2 separate regions of the Homo sapiens genome follow, and region 2 is linked to region 1. The links are contacts of gene promoters, found by promoter capture Hi-C in human tissues and cell types (Jung and others, 2019). All regions are on one chromosome and are shown on one strand. Each heading gives the region's core, a stretch centred on a gene start or on the middle of the fragment in contact. The rest is flanking DNA. Distances are from core to core; before and after follow the strand shown.

What was found. Contacts are between HindIII fragments. The study calls those that stand out against the background at their distance.
Region 2: a contact is called between a fragment that was not itself captured here and the fragment with the promoter of HMGB4 in region 1, in 1 of the 25 tissues and cell types used here (dorsolateral prefrontal cortex).

What each region holds. Positions count from the first base shown.
Region 1 is chr1:33,860,640-33,867,243 of GRCh38, reverse strand. HMGB4 (high mobility group box 4) reads right to left here and starts at 3,165. Exons shown (of 1, transcript NM_001379301.1): 1 at 2,453-3,165. The coding sequence starts at 3,052. The coding sequence ends at 2,492. All of the region lies in intron 5 of CSMD2 (CUB and Sushi multiple domains 2), which reads left to right. The HindIII fragment of the contact is 11,719 bases long and covers 1-6,604 here.
Region 2 is chr1:34,597,587-34,603,695 of GRCh38, reverse strand. The region is part of intron 3 of LOC105378641 (a long non-coding RNA gene); the gene reads left to right. Among named protein-coding and RNA genes, the nearest start is that of MIR552, 69 kb to the left of the region's middle. The HindIII fragment of the contact is 6,543 bases long and covers 1-5,041 here.

The DNA of each region.
Region 1 (6,604 bases), core at 1,916-4,415:
CACAGTTCCTTGTCATTCCTTGCCACATGGGCTTCTCAAACTTGACCACTTACTTCATCAAGCAGCAAGGAGAATCCCTAGAGCAAAGTGGCTAGCAATATATAGTATTATTTATCATCACATAATCACAGAAGTGACATCCCATCTCCTTTGCCACATTCTATGGGTTAGAAGAAAGTCACCTGTCCAGCCCACACTTAATAGGAGGGGATTATACAAGGGTGTGAACACCAAGAAAGGAGGAAAGGATTATGGAACAGCCACCCTAGAGTATATCCGCTATATTACCTATTAGATTTAGGACTGTGCCAAATACTTTTACATGTATTACCTCAGTTAATTGCTAAAACAACCTGTAAGGCAGGCATTATCCTCCTTGCACAGATAAGAACATGAGGCTCAGAGGAATGAGAACTTGCCCTAAGTTCTGCCAACATTAAGGTGGGGACCACCATATCATGGCATCAAGTGAACTTGTATGAGTGTACAGGCTGGAGGGCCAGCACCCTTATAGTAAGGAGCAAGGGCCCCAGGGAGGCAGGGAGAGGGCAGGAAGAGCAGGAGGGGGATAGCTCTCCGTGAGGGGTGAGACCAGGAGGAAAGGATTGGTATGGATTACATTTCAAGAATGAAGGAAACTGAGAGCACTTATATCTGAGGATCTCTATTTTCTCAATGAAGCAGAAAATGCGGGCGTCTCCTGAGAGGGAAGAGAAGCAGAGCCAAGTTGGAATAGCAGCTGTGGGGAATGCGGAACGGGAATTTTGCCAGCATGCCTACAAAGTTGTCAAGTGGAATAAGGCTGCTTCCTTCATGAAGACTGCAGCACAGGCTTGCTGGGTGGTCCCCAGTCCCTCCCCCATTACTTTCTGCATTCACTTTCATCATCTTGCTTTGCAGTGCTGCAATTTATGCCCAAGTCCATCTCTCCTGTCAGAAGGAAATTTTTTATAGGGCGGGAACTTAGCAGTAGTGCGTAATGTGCCTCCCTGTACCCAGCAAATGGCCTGGCACATGAAAATCCTCCACAAATGACCTGTTTGATTCCAGACCCTGAATTTCTAAATCACTGTATTACCTCTCATCCCCTAAAGGCTCATGCAGTTCTAAAAGACTGTTCAAAAATATGTATTTTTACTGTTCAGCGCAGTAGAGTAGAAAGTGTAGGTCCCTCTATCATGGAATAGGGGTCCTTAGAGGTGGAGTTAGGGAGATCTGTTGCATGTATAAACTGGTGACAAAAAAGCAGCTTTGCATTTTGGCCCAGTATTTTTGATGTCAAGAAGTCAGAAGAACCATTTCAAAATATTCCATTTCAATCTTTATTGATTGGTATGGAATGTTGCCTACAGTATATTCTTGCCTGAAAAATCTAGTTACCAGACAGACACTTACAGCACAATCCCATTTGTGTCAAATTATAGTCAAGTAGGAAAAAACCTAAGTCAAACCATGTCAGGGAAAAAATGAAATGTGTTGTTCATCTTCAATGAAAAGTTTAGGAGACTGTTCTGATGCCACAGGGATTCTAGCATCTCGGCCTCCTTCTTGGGCCCTATGAGATGGCAAATGGCTGTCCACATTCCCTGGACTGCGGTGTCCCCCAGGACTCCTTACACAGGTCCAGAGGTCCACCCTGATAGGACCAACTTGGGTCACATGCCCACCACTGAGCCAATGACTGTGGCCAAGGCGATCCTGCCCTCTTATCCAGCCTTGGTCACGAAAGGGAGTCAGAGTGCTATGAACAAGAGGAAGAGGAGTGGAGGCCACATATTATACATCTATCCACTGAAAAACGATTGATCTGGTTCCCCAGCCCCCTGCTTTTTTTTTTTTTTTTTGGTAAAATCTGCCCCTTGCCTCCTCCTGATTAGGGAACACCCCTGGGAGTTCACCCTGGCCCCACTGAGCGTATCTAAGTGTTGCTGGAAATCCTGGGTTCCCTCAGGCCTGTCTCAACTCAGATGCCATATGTTTCTCCTGGGGCCTCAAGTGTGAGCTTGAACTCTAGGCCTTCTAGCCCTGGCAGTCTTCCCAGTCCTGCCACTGCTTAGCAGAGTCAGACGTCATGTTCCTGAACCTGACACTGAGTAGGGTCCTCTCACCTGGATCACCACTCAGAACCACGGTGCTTCTACCTCCATGACTGCTGCTACTTTACACCTGGAGGCTCCCACCCAGTGGCCCAAGTCACACCTTTTGTTTACTGCTGACACTTCTCTCAAAGCCAGCCCTTCCCTCCCTTTCCCTCCCCTCCATTCCCCTCCTTTCCCTTCCCTTCCCCTCTCTTCCCTTCCCCTCCCTCCTCTCCTCCCTTCCCCTTCTTTCCCTTCCCGTCCTCTCCGTTCCCCTCCTCAGGATCAGTCTCTCCTCTACCAAGCCACTCCCTCCTCCACAAAGCATCAGTCACAGCTACTCTAATGCCACACATGAGACCAGGAACAGGAAATACGGTTGAATGGCATTTTGTTTTTTCAAACTGGATCCATCAGCTCTGCCTGACTCTTTTCCCTCTGCACCGGTTTCTAGCTGACATTCGGTACTTCTTCCTGGCATTACATTGTTTACGGTAGAGTTCAAGTTCCTCGAAGTACTTAGCTCTCAGGAGAGCCACTCTTTGCTCATAAGGGTGCTTCTCCAGGTCTGTCGCTGTTGACCACATCTTCCCTGTGGCCTTGGCCACCTGCACCACCGACCAGTTCGGGTTCTCCCTCTTCAGCTGAGCATAGTGGTCTTGGCAGAAGAGTAGGAAGGATGATGGAGGCCGTCTGGGTTCCTGGGGATCCCGCTTTCTCCGTTTCTTCCTCTTGCCAACATAATTCATCATTTCTTCCTGGTATCGGGCTTTGTCGAGTTTGGCCAGGGCTTCATATTTGGCCTTTTCATGCTTTGAGATGGATCTCCATTTTTCCGAACACTTTCTAGAGAACTCTTTAAAGCCAACATAGGTATTTGGCTGCTGCTCCTTGAATTTGTTTCTGTAATTCAGCAAAAAGTGAACGTAAGAAGAGACATTTGCCTTAGGCTTTAGCTGGATTTCTTTTCCCATGTTCGTAAGTTCACCTTTTTTCTGGATTCAGTAACGTGGACAGGAGAGACTGTTGTTCCCACACTCCAGGAGCAATCTAGAAAGTGCTGTACTTGCAGCGAATTTTTCTGTCTGCAAGAGCTGTAGTCAGGGCTCAGCCTTTTCAGTGCTGATGGCATTGTTGAGTCAGAGGAGGGAAACTGTGACATCATCCACAAGCCAGCCAATCCCAGCCAACACCTGTGGGCATTTGTGTACAGGTGCTCGTATTGGTTGGTTACTTGAGGGTCAATGTTTGCCTCTCATGAAAGATGATGGTTCATTCATAGTAGGCTATGAGGCAGCTATGTCCCCCAGAAATAATTCTCCTTGGCTTCCTGGAGGCAGTGGGTTTTGCTGCACTTTAGGGGCTTAAAATCCCTAGGCTGTAGTGACAGGCCATGGGGTCTGCCTTCCTCACTATACGATTTTCAGGATGCCTCATCATCCCTTCCAAAGACAGGCTGAGCATAATGAACATGGGGAGGTGGATAGATCCAGGGCTGTCATGATAAAATGTGAAGTGTTTCTGTTTGCCTTGAACAGTGGCAGCTCATGCCATACAAAGGGTTTAGTAGTAACTCTAAAAGTAATCAGGTATGACAGCTGTGACTTGGTTCCTGTCAGGACAAAGTTGTCTAATTTAAAACCTGAGCACTTGGGCTATGAGTTGGAACTCTTCATTTCTCTGAAGAAATGTGAGGCGAAAGAGGGGGGAGAACCTTGAGATTTTATTAATTAACACTGGAGTTCATGAAAATGAAATGGAATTTGTAGCACATCCAGAAGCCTCCCCACTCTCATGTGAGGGGTCCCCATTTCTTAGGTTTAGAACACAAAGCTGTAACAGCTACACTCAAACTGGCCGGCTTCTGGCTTTTGGTCAAAGTAATTGCAGATATTCCACTAGTCTTTCAATTGGAGGGAAGAGAAAAGATGAAAAAGTGTCATTCTGGGGGCCTTTGGACACTGCTAGGTACTTGCCTGTGTGGCACTGGGTTTAATATCACTTAATGGTTGATGATAGCCCCAAATTTATAGGACTAGAAAACTGAGTTTCATTAACATAAAAAGTAACATGTTCAAGGTTGAACAGCCACTCACAGGTGAGAGTGTGGATTTTGACGGCTGATTGCTTGACCTAAGCCTGTGCTTCATCCTGCCTGCACAGAGCTGTTGCCAGGGCACTGAGGGTCCAGATATGTGGTCTCAGCAGCTGAGCCGGACAAGGAAACTTGCCTAAGACTAGACCATATTTTGAATTTTTCCAGGTTCATTCCCAGGGTTCCAAGACTTCAGTGTTCATCTTCTGTAAAAGAAAGATGGAAACTAATAAGAGTCTCCAATCCTGAATTCTTGCCCAGCTCTGCTGCAAGGTGGCTGGCCTACCTAAGCCATCCCCTTCCTCCCTGTGAGCCAATGATCTCTCATAAATTGAGCATTCTGGACTGGCCAGGGAAGCCCCTCCAGGGGACAAGCTGTAGTTGTGTGGCAGGATTTGGGGGCCTATAAGATATCAGGTGCCATCAAGGAAGTCTGGGCTAGTAGGGGGTCTCGCAAAGGAACGGATTACTCTGGGGACACTTCTCAGCCTAGGTAGCCTTTTTCCCCCTGGCTCTTTCTCCCAAGGGGCCAGAGGTTGACTCACACATTTTTTGGACATGAGCAGGGCTGCCTAGATGAATGGGACACAGCTCCTTTCTGAGATCAAAAGATGGGACATGAGGAAGAACTTTAATGAAAGTCCACATATTCATCAGACTCTGCTCAGGCTCAGACACACACACACACACACACACACACACACACACACACACACACACACACACAGAGTAGCTTATCTGTGCCTCTTAACCTTCCATCCCTCTCATGATAAGATCCAGGAAGATTAACCCACAATAGCTATCGGGAAGCTAGCAGATTTAAGAAGAAAAGGCAGTAAAAGGGAAAAGCTATGTCAACCTTTTGGTGTTGTCAAAGTTCCAACTTGGAGGATGAAGCAGGGGAAGTCCTTGTTTAGGGGAGCTTAGGAAAGGTAAATAAATCTGGCTTCCTAAATCAATGCTGTGTGCTGGGTATCTAAGAGTTGCCCTTCCAGATCCCCTTTCCAGCCTTCTCCAACCTCTCTTCAACCTTCTCTGGCCTGGGAAGCTGGTCTGTATGAGCCACATCAGAGGATCCCATACCCTCTGGTTTCCATCTCACTTTGGTCAATGGGGCCCTCAGGAGATCAGAGATGGAGGAAAGTTAAGTCAAGGCATTTATTCTCCTGGATCCCCACCCCAGGGTCACTTGGAGCTGGTTCTGTGTCCCTGGACTGAAGGTCACTGGTCCTCATAAGGTGTCCTCTCTAAATGACTCTCTCCTTCCAGTACAGGCATTGCCCCCTTTCTTTATCTCCTCCTGCCTAGGGTGGTAAAACTCTACTTTTATGAGCCTCTGAGGTCTCTGCTACTTTCCCACACTCTGCCCTCACCAATCATTTTAATTTGAGTGGCCATCTGTTTCCTGCGGGGACCCTGACCAAAGTACCATGGTTTTAGCCTTTCACCATGTAGGCATCAGTTTAATAGAGAAGAGTAATGAGCTTCTGGAGATCCAAGTGCCTGGCAGTCACACAGCCTAGAGCAAGCATGCCTGCAAGGACAGTAGCATGACCAGACCACATGCCCGGGAAGAGGTGTCCAATATTCCCTAGATTATGAGATGACCTCCAGGCAGGAGCATTGGTCTAGAGGGCCAGGTAGTAAATATGATAGGCTTGGTGAACCACAGGGTTTCTGTTGCAGGTACCCAGCTCTGCCACTATACCTCGAAAGTAACCATAGAAAATACCTAAACCAATGAGTGTGGCTATGTTCCAATAAAACCTTATTTTTAAAAAATAGGCTGCAAGCTGGGGGTCGTAAATCTGCCAACTCCTCGTCTACAGATGTGAGTTCAGTATTTTCAAACATCTTGATTGCAGTCTGCAATAAGAAATACATTTTACATCATGACTCGTTTACATACATACATACTTAATATTTATATAATGCTTAATATGAGCCAGTCTCTCTTCTAAGCACTTTATGTACCTCATTCCATTCAGTCCTCATAACAAGCCTATGGGAGGGCTATTTTTATCTCCATACAAGGATAAGTGAATTCAGATGAAGGTAGCAAAGCACAGAGAAGATATAGAGATAAAAAATTTCTACTTGTGTGACATACTCTTATTTTCTACTCTGTTGTAGTCACCTTTACTTTATGTTGTTATTTAAAATGCCACCCACAGACTGACCTCATGACCCACTGATGGGTCACACTCCAAGAATGGATTTGAAAAACACTGTCCAGACAAGCTGAGAGGGAGCTTCCGCCTCGGAGACTGTGAGATCCTCTTTACTTGGTGGCAGTAACATGAAGTGGAAAGAACATGGCCTTTTAAGCCAGACACATATAAGTTCAAATTCTAGCTTTGCCATTTACTAGCTGAGTAACTTTGGGCAAGTCTAGCTCATTACAACCATATCTCTAAAAAGTAGTGAGGTG
Region 2 (6,109 bases), core at 521-3,020, 740 kb before region 1:
AAGCACTTTAGCGACAGAAATAAAATTACAATAGAGTGGCTAGGATTTGGTGCCTGATTGTGGGGTATGAGGCCCAGTGTCCCTGGAGGCTTCACGTTCCTCATTCTCCCTAATGAGAAGGGGGAAGAAAAGAGAAATGGCACTTTCTGAATGCCAGGTACTGCCTAAAGTTGTCTTATTGAACTCTCACGGTAACCCTATTATAGAACTGGGAAACTGAAGCTCAGAGAGGTGAGATAACTTGCCCAAGCTCACACAGCTAATTAGTGCAGCTGTAACCCAGATCTGGGTATCTCTAGGATGTGGGCTGTCTTCATTGCACAGATCCTTCTTAGTCCTTCTCTGAGGACAAATGATTCCTCTTTCTCTCTCTCTCTCTCTCTCTCTCTCTCTCTCTGTCTCTCTCGGAATTCAATTCCAGATAGCCGCTCCGCTAAGTGGATAGCATGAGATGCTCACTTTTCAATTTCCTGACTTCTGAGATGTTGGTAGCCATTGTGAGAGACATAAAACAACTTCAGGGTAAACCTGCCTGCCTCCACTCCGTTTATGTCTGGTTTCAAGATTCCTCCCCTCACCCAGCCCCTGACGTGCCTCCCACACAAGATCTCTGAGTTCTCTAAGCAGACGGCTTAAAGTGTTTTCTGTGGCACAACTCTATTTCAAAGAAAGATCCAAGTGCCTGTGTATTTGTGTATAAGCCTGTGTGTAGAATTGCTGATGATGTGCTGTCTGGGGAACCCCTCTGAGGGGTGCAGGTGTGATGAGGGTGAGGTGTGTAAAGGCTATATGTGCTGAGTGTGACATATGTATGTACACAAAGTCATTTACAGCTGCCATTGGCTGTGGTTTACCAATGGCCTGGAGGGCTGGTTAATGTGCCCTGTGAACTGTGCTGTCGGAGATCTCTCTTGGGTGTCATTGAGTTCCCGACTGTGGCTTTGCCTAGTGATCTAGGAAAATGGCATGGTGGCCAATTCACCTGAGGGAATTGGTGATGATGGGAATTGTGTTGAACTGTGGCTTGCCCCTTAGGACACTAGTAAGACTTGCCTGCAGTGCACGCACGTCTGTGCTTGATGACCACTTGAAGTCACCCTGGCTGCTAGTACTGATGATCTAAGAGTTCTGCAGGGAGAAAGTCTGTGAAATCTTCCTGGGTACACCATGGGGGTGGAGGGTGCACCAAGATGTTGAAAAATGCATTGACAATAGGTACCAGAATCCTTGAAGAGCTCTGTAGTGAGTCATCTGTAAGCTGGAGATGGAACTAGGATCCTTGATCTCTGTGGTATAATGGGGTCCCAGTGCTGTCGAGGCAAGACGGTGGTGACGAACCATCAGAGACAAGGAATGTGGAACTTCTATAATAATCCACAAGCAGAGACGTTTGCTTTGAACTTTCAGCAGACTGTTTTACCTTCCTATCAGGCCAGCTCCTTCTGGGAAATGGGGCAGGTGATAAGCCCAGTGATTTCCATGAATCTTCTGCCTCCTTGCCAATGCATTTCCTAATACTTCCGTGAAACAAAGCCCTCCCATGGTACATTGTTTGGGCATGGCTGAGTAGGTTGTACATCAAATATAGGCTTTCTTTTCCTGCCTACAGCACCAGCTGAAGTCCAGAACCATCATTTCTGGACTTATCATCCCCTTGATATCCACACAGTAATACTTCCAACCAGGGCAAACTTTTTAAGGCAAAGGAGTAAGGTACTGAACTAAAGACCACGCACACTATTCTAACCACATGCCCCATCACCCAGAAGAAACTGGCTTGATAAGGTGAAGGAGAGGTCTGCTGAAAGTTCAGTTACAACTGAATAGCCTCAATTGATGAATAGCATCTGCGAAGATGAGGTTGGATTCTGCAGGGTATGGTGTATGTCTTAAACCAGTAGTCAATGTCTGGTGCTGTTCCATAGCCAAAGTGAATGGATCTGGGCCCCAAGGAAGAGGTGGAAGTAGTTTTTTTCACAATTACACTCAGTAACCTACTTGAAGATTCTTTCACTTGCTGTTTCCTTGACCTTGGGCTTCCCAGTAATTAGAAGCTGAGATAGTCCCCTGGCCATTCTGGGATCCTTGTGTGGCTGAACCACCAGGCTGAAGGGGGCATCTCTGTGCTGACCAGGATAGTTGATCCTGGCTGCCAGGGGAAATTGGTTTGTTGCCACACAAGAGGGGCAAGAAGTACCCTGCTTGGAACCACAGGGCCACTGGAACATCTGTTAGTACTCACCTGTGCAATAGTCCTGACCAGTGGAAAACTGTGGCAACCCAATAAAGACAAGACTGCAGAGGACTCAGATCTCACAAGAATGAAGGATTAGGTCACCCCATCGGGCATTCCAAGAGGCCAAGGGGTACGTAGATTTGGCAGTAGAAGAGGGCACTATGGATTACCTACTTATGTCTCATGTTCAGCTATAAAAGCATGGAGAGTAGCAGCTAAGCTTTACGGCAGTTTTCTCTTTTTCTCCTCCTCTACTACCTTATATGAAGAATACTGGTGGTATTCCTCTTTTAGGTTTCAGTAGAGAGTTTGACTGAATTGACATTACCTTGTAATGATACAGAAGAGATGGACTTTGTGTGTTCTCTGTATTGAAGACATGAGCTTTTTACCCAGAGGAATGACCAAAGTAGATGCTGAGATGTAAAAAGGGTGGCTTGTGCTAGATATTGTTATTGGCTTCTTCAGATCCTTTTGCCACCATTCTCCACTCTGTTCTGTGTCCCCAGGGGCTGGCCTTTCCCCACTAGATCAAAGAGCTCCTTGTCCTTTGGGTTTCAGGTGGGTGTGGTCAAAGAGGAGTGTTGTAGGAGGTTAGAAAGAAGGAAGAGTGAGGTCAGGGCATTGATTTTCCTAGATCTTTCCCTGCAGGTCACCTTAGGCTGACTGACTGTGTCCCTCCACGAAAAGTTACAGCTCCTGTAGGTGGCCCTCCCTCTCTGCAAAACTTTCTTTTCTTTCTGGGTTCCAGTAACCACTCTGTTCCTTGCCTCCTGTGGGTGGGCAATCATGGCACTTTGCTACTACAAACTCCAGAATGCTGAACCATTCTTTTGGTTTCCTTATACCCTCCTCTCACCTTTGTAAATGGCCCCTTTATTAAACTCTTCTCAAACCCTTCCCAATTCCTGCCAGGACCCTGATTGATACACTGAGCTTGGCCAATTGGTTGTGCTGCCCAGGACTTTCAGTCTGGAGCATGTAATGCAAAAACCCCCACCAATGGTTGGGAATTCATTTGTGGTAACCATGGTAGTGCCCAGTGGCAACAGCAATTGTGGCTAATGTCAGTGTCCTTCTTCTGCAGTGACCATAGCATCCTAGCCAGATCATTTCCTGTGTTTTGGCCCTTGGGGGAGCCCTTGGTTCTTGCTTATTTTCCAACCCTTGTACCTTAGCCTCCTAATAATTTTGTAAGCCTCCAATATCATTCTAAGAAATTCTATTTTTTTTTTTGAGATGGAGTGTCGCTGTGTCACCCAGGCTGGAGTGCAGTGGCATGATCTCGGCTCACTGCAACCTCCGCCTCCCAGGTTCAAGCGAATCTTCTGCCTCAGCCTCCCAAGAGAAATTCTCTTAAAAATTAATATAGCCAGAGATGTTTCCAGTACCTTTAACAAAAACCTTGACTGATACAGCCATTGAGGCAGATATTTGATGTCTGGTCCAAAGCTTTATTTTTTGGCCAAATTGAAACTGCATGGAGTTCTTTAAAAATGGCAGATTCAGTTAGTATGAACTCCTTTTGTTCATTGCCCGTGGCATTTCCCCTTCTTTCTACCTGGAATGTGGGCTGATGTTGGAGGCACAGCTGCCATTTTGCAACCACAAGTTAATCATAAGGAAAAGGCTAAGAATGTGGTAGAAGTCTTGGCCTAGATGTCCCTGTGCCTTTGGGCCAACATAGCAACAACATCTTCTAGAGGCTTTCTTCTTACCAGAGAAGAAAGAAAAGCCCTGCTTGGCTTAAGTCATTGTTTCTCATTTTGTTATTAACGTAACGAATTCCTTCTATTATAGTATTATTTACTTCTATCTCTACAACAATTCTACTTGAGATTGAATTCTCTGCGTATCAGGTGGAGATTCAGAGGCTGAGAGCAGACAAGTGACCAGTCCAAGTACATACAGCTAGTACTGGGGAAGGGACGCAAACTGAGAACAATGCCATGAATATGTTTTGGCCCATTCATTTGATAAGAATTTCAGGATTTCTTATCTTGTGCCAGGCCTGGGTCCAACATTTGAGATACAAAGATGGATACAACAGGGTCCTTGCCATTGAGGTCCACCAAAGTGGGCCAAGTGAGAGATGATGGGAAGTTGCCCAAGGAAGATAGAGAGGGCTGGGTAGAATTAAGAGACATTTAGAAGGAAGAATCGTAGGATTTGGTGATAGATTCAAAGGAGAGGACGGATATCTAAGTTTGTGGCTTGAACACTTGGGAGAAATGTGTGGTCATGACTGGTATAGAGAATATGCAAGGAAAGGCAGGAGTGGTGGGAGGCAGGTGGGAGGAGCCTGGAAGGCAGGCAACCAGATGCAGAATGGATTTTTGAAGCAGGGCAGCTCTGGGGAAGCAAGGGCTCCAGGCTGTTGTCATGGGATTGGTGACTGAGATAGAGTGGAGGTGAAAGTTGGGGCTGGCCTGAAAGCCTCAGCTGCTAACTATTAATGCCATATTCCCTATTCAACCCCTTCAGGGCAGCCTGGGCAACTGGAGCCACAGAGGAACAGCAAGAGGAGGGCTGTGCTTTCACATTGGACCCTTATAGAGGGCCTTGGCAGGCTCCCCTTCTCTCCCCAGCCATTTTCTGGGCTTGAATTCAGCATTCAGTCGCTCTCCTCATTAGAAAGAGTGGCTCTGTGGGTCTGCAGGATCACTCAATACAGTAAGTGAGCCAACCCCAGGGGTTCTTTCAGGTAACTAGTACTTAAGCCCGCCATTAGCCACCATTAGGGATGCCTTTACTGCTTAATGATCACCAGCTACAGGGCTTGGTGGGGCTGGACAGATGGAGAGCAGGGAGGAGCTTCCCCACAAAGAGGCCATTCCAATGTTCTTCTCCTGAGACCCCAGAATTGAGGCTGCTCTGCCCTCCAGGCACAGGATTAGTTACAGATCACTGGCCTGTCTTGGTTAGAATAGGTAGAAATCTATATTTGATGAGTCTATGGGAAGAAGGAAGGGGATGCTAGGAGAAGCTAAGGCTCCTGTTTCTTTCTGATGGGTGGGATCTAAGGGTATTTGTGCTCTCTCTCTCTCCCTCCCTCTGTATGTGTGTGTTCGTGTGTGTGTGTGTGTGTGTGTATGTATTTTGGGGAACCTGTTCTCCGCTCTGAGGGGGTCTGGGATTCAGGGTTAGATATCCCACTTTATATAATAGAAATTTCCCCAGGATCCACTAGTCCATGGGTATCAATGAAATCATGGGTAACAGAAATGGCTCAAATTTCACTGTCTTGTGTCCCCACCTTACCACCCTCTGAAAAATCTCGCAGTTTCCCAAGAATCCCTGGGACGTCTCTGGCACTTCTGGACACATATGCTGCTGTTTCAGTGAGCACCAAGTTGCCCTCTAGGGGGTGCTGCTGCTCCACTGGGCATGGCCCTGCAGACATCATTGCTGCTCTGCAGGTGCTGGGAACTCCGGGCACTGTTGCTGCTCTGCTGGGCACTGCAGCCTCTCCCTCTGCACTCCTGGGCAACCCTTTGAGCTCTGCTGCTGGTCTGCCAGGCCCAGAAGTGTCCACCAGTCACCACTATTGCCCCACTGTTGCTTCACTGGGCTCTGTTATTGCTGCCATCTCTCAAGGGACACAGTTCAGGGGGCCAAAGCTGAATAGTGGTCTGTTGTAGGTGGAGAAGAAGGGAGGAAGCCTCTCGCCTCTTGTGCTGCACTATCTTGGAGCCATCCCAAACTTCTATAAAGTTGGATGACACAGGCCCTCCTGTCTTTTTTTTTTTTTTTTGAAACAGAGTCTCGCTGTTGCCCAGGCTGGAGTGCAGTGGCGCGATCTCGGCTCACTGCAGGCTCTGCCGCCCCCGGGTTCACGCCATTCTCCTGCCTCAGCCTCCTGAGTAGCTGGGA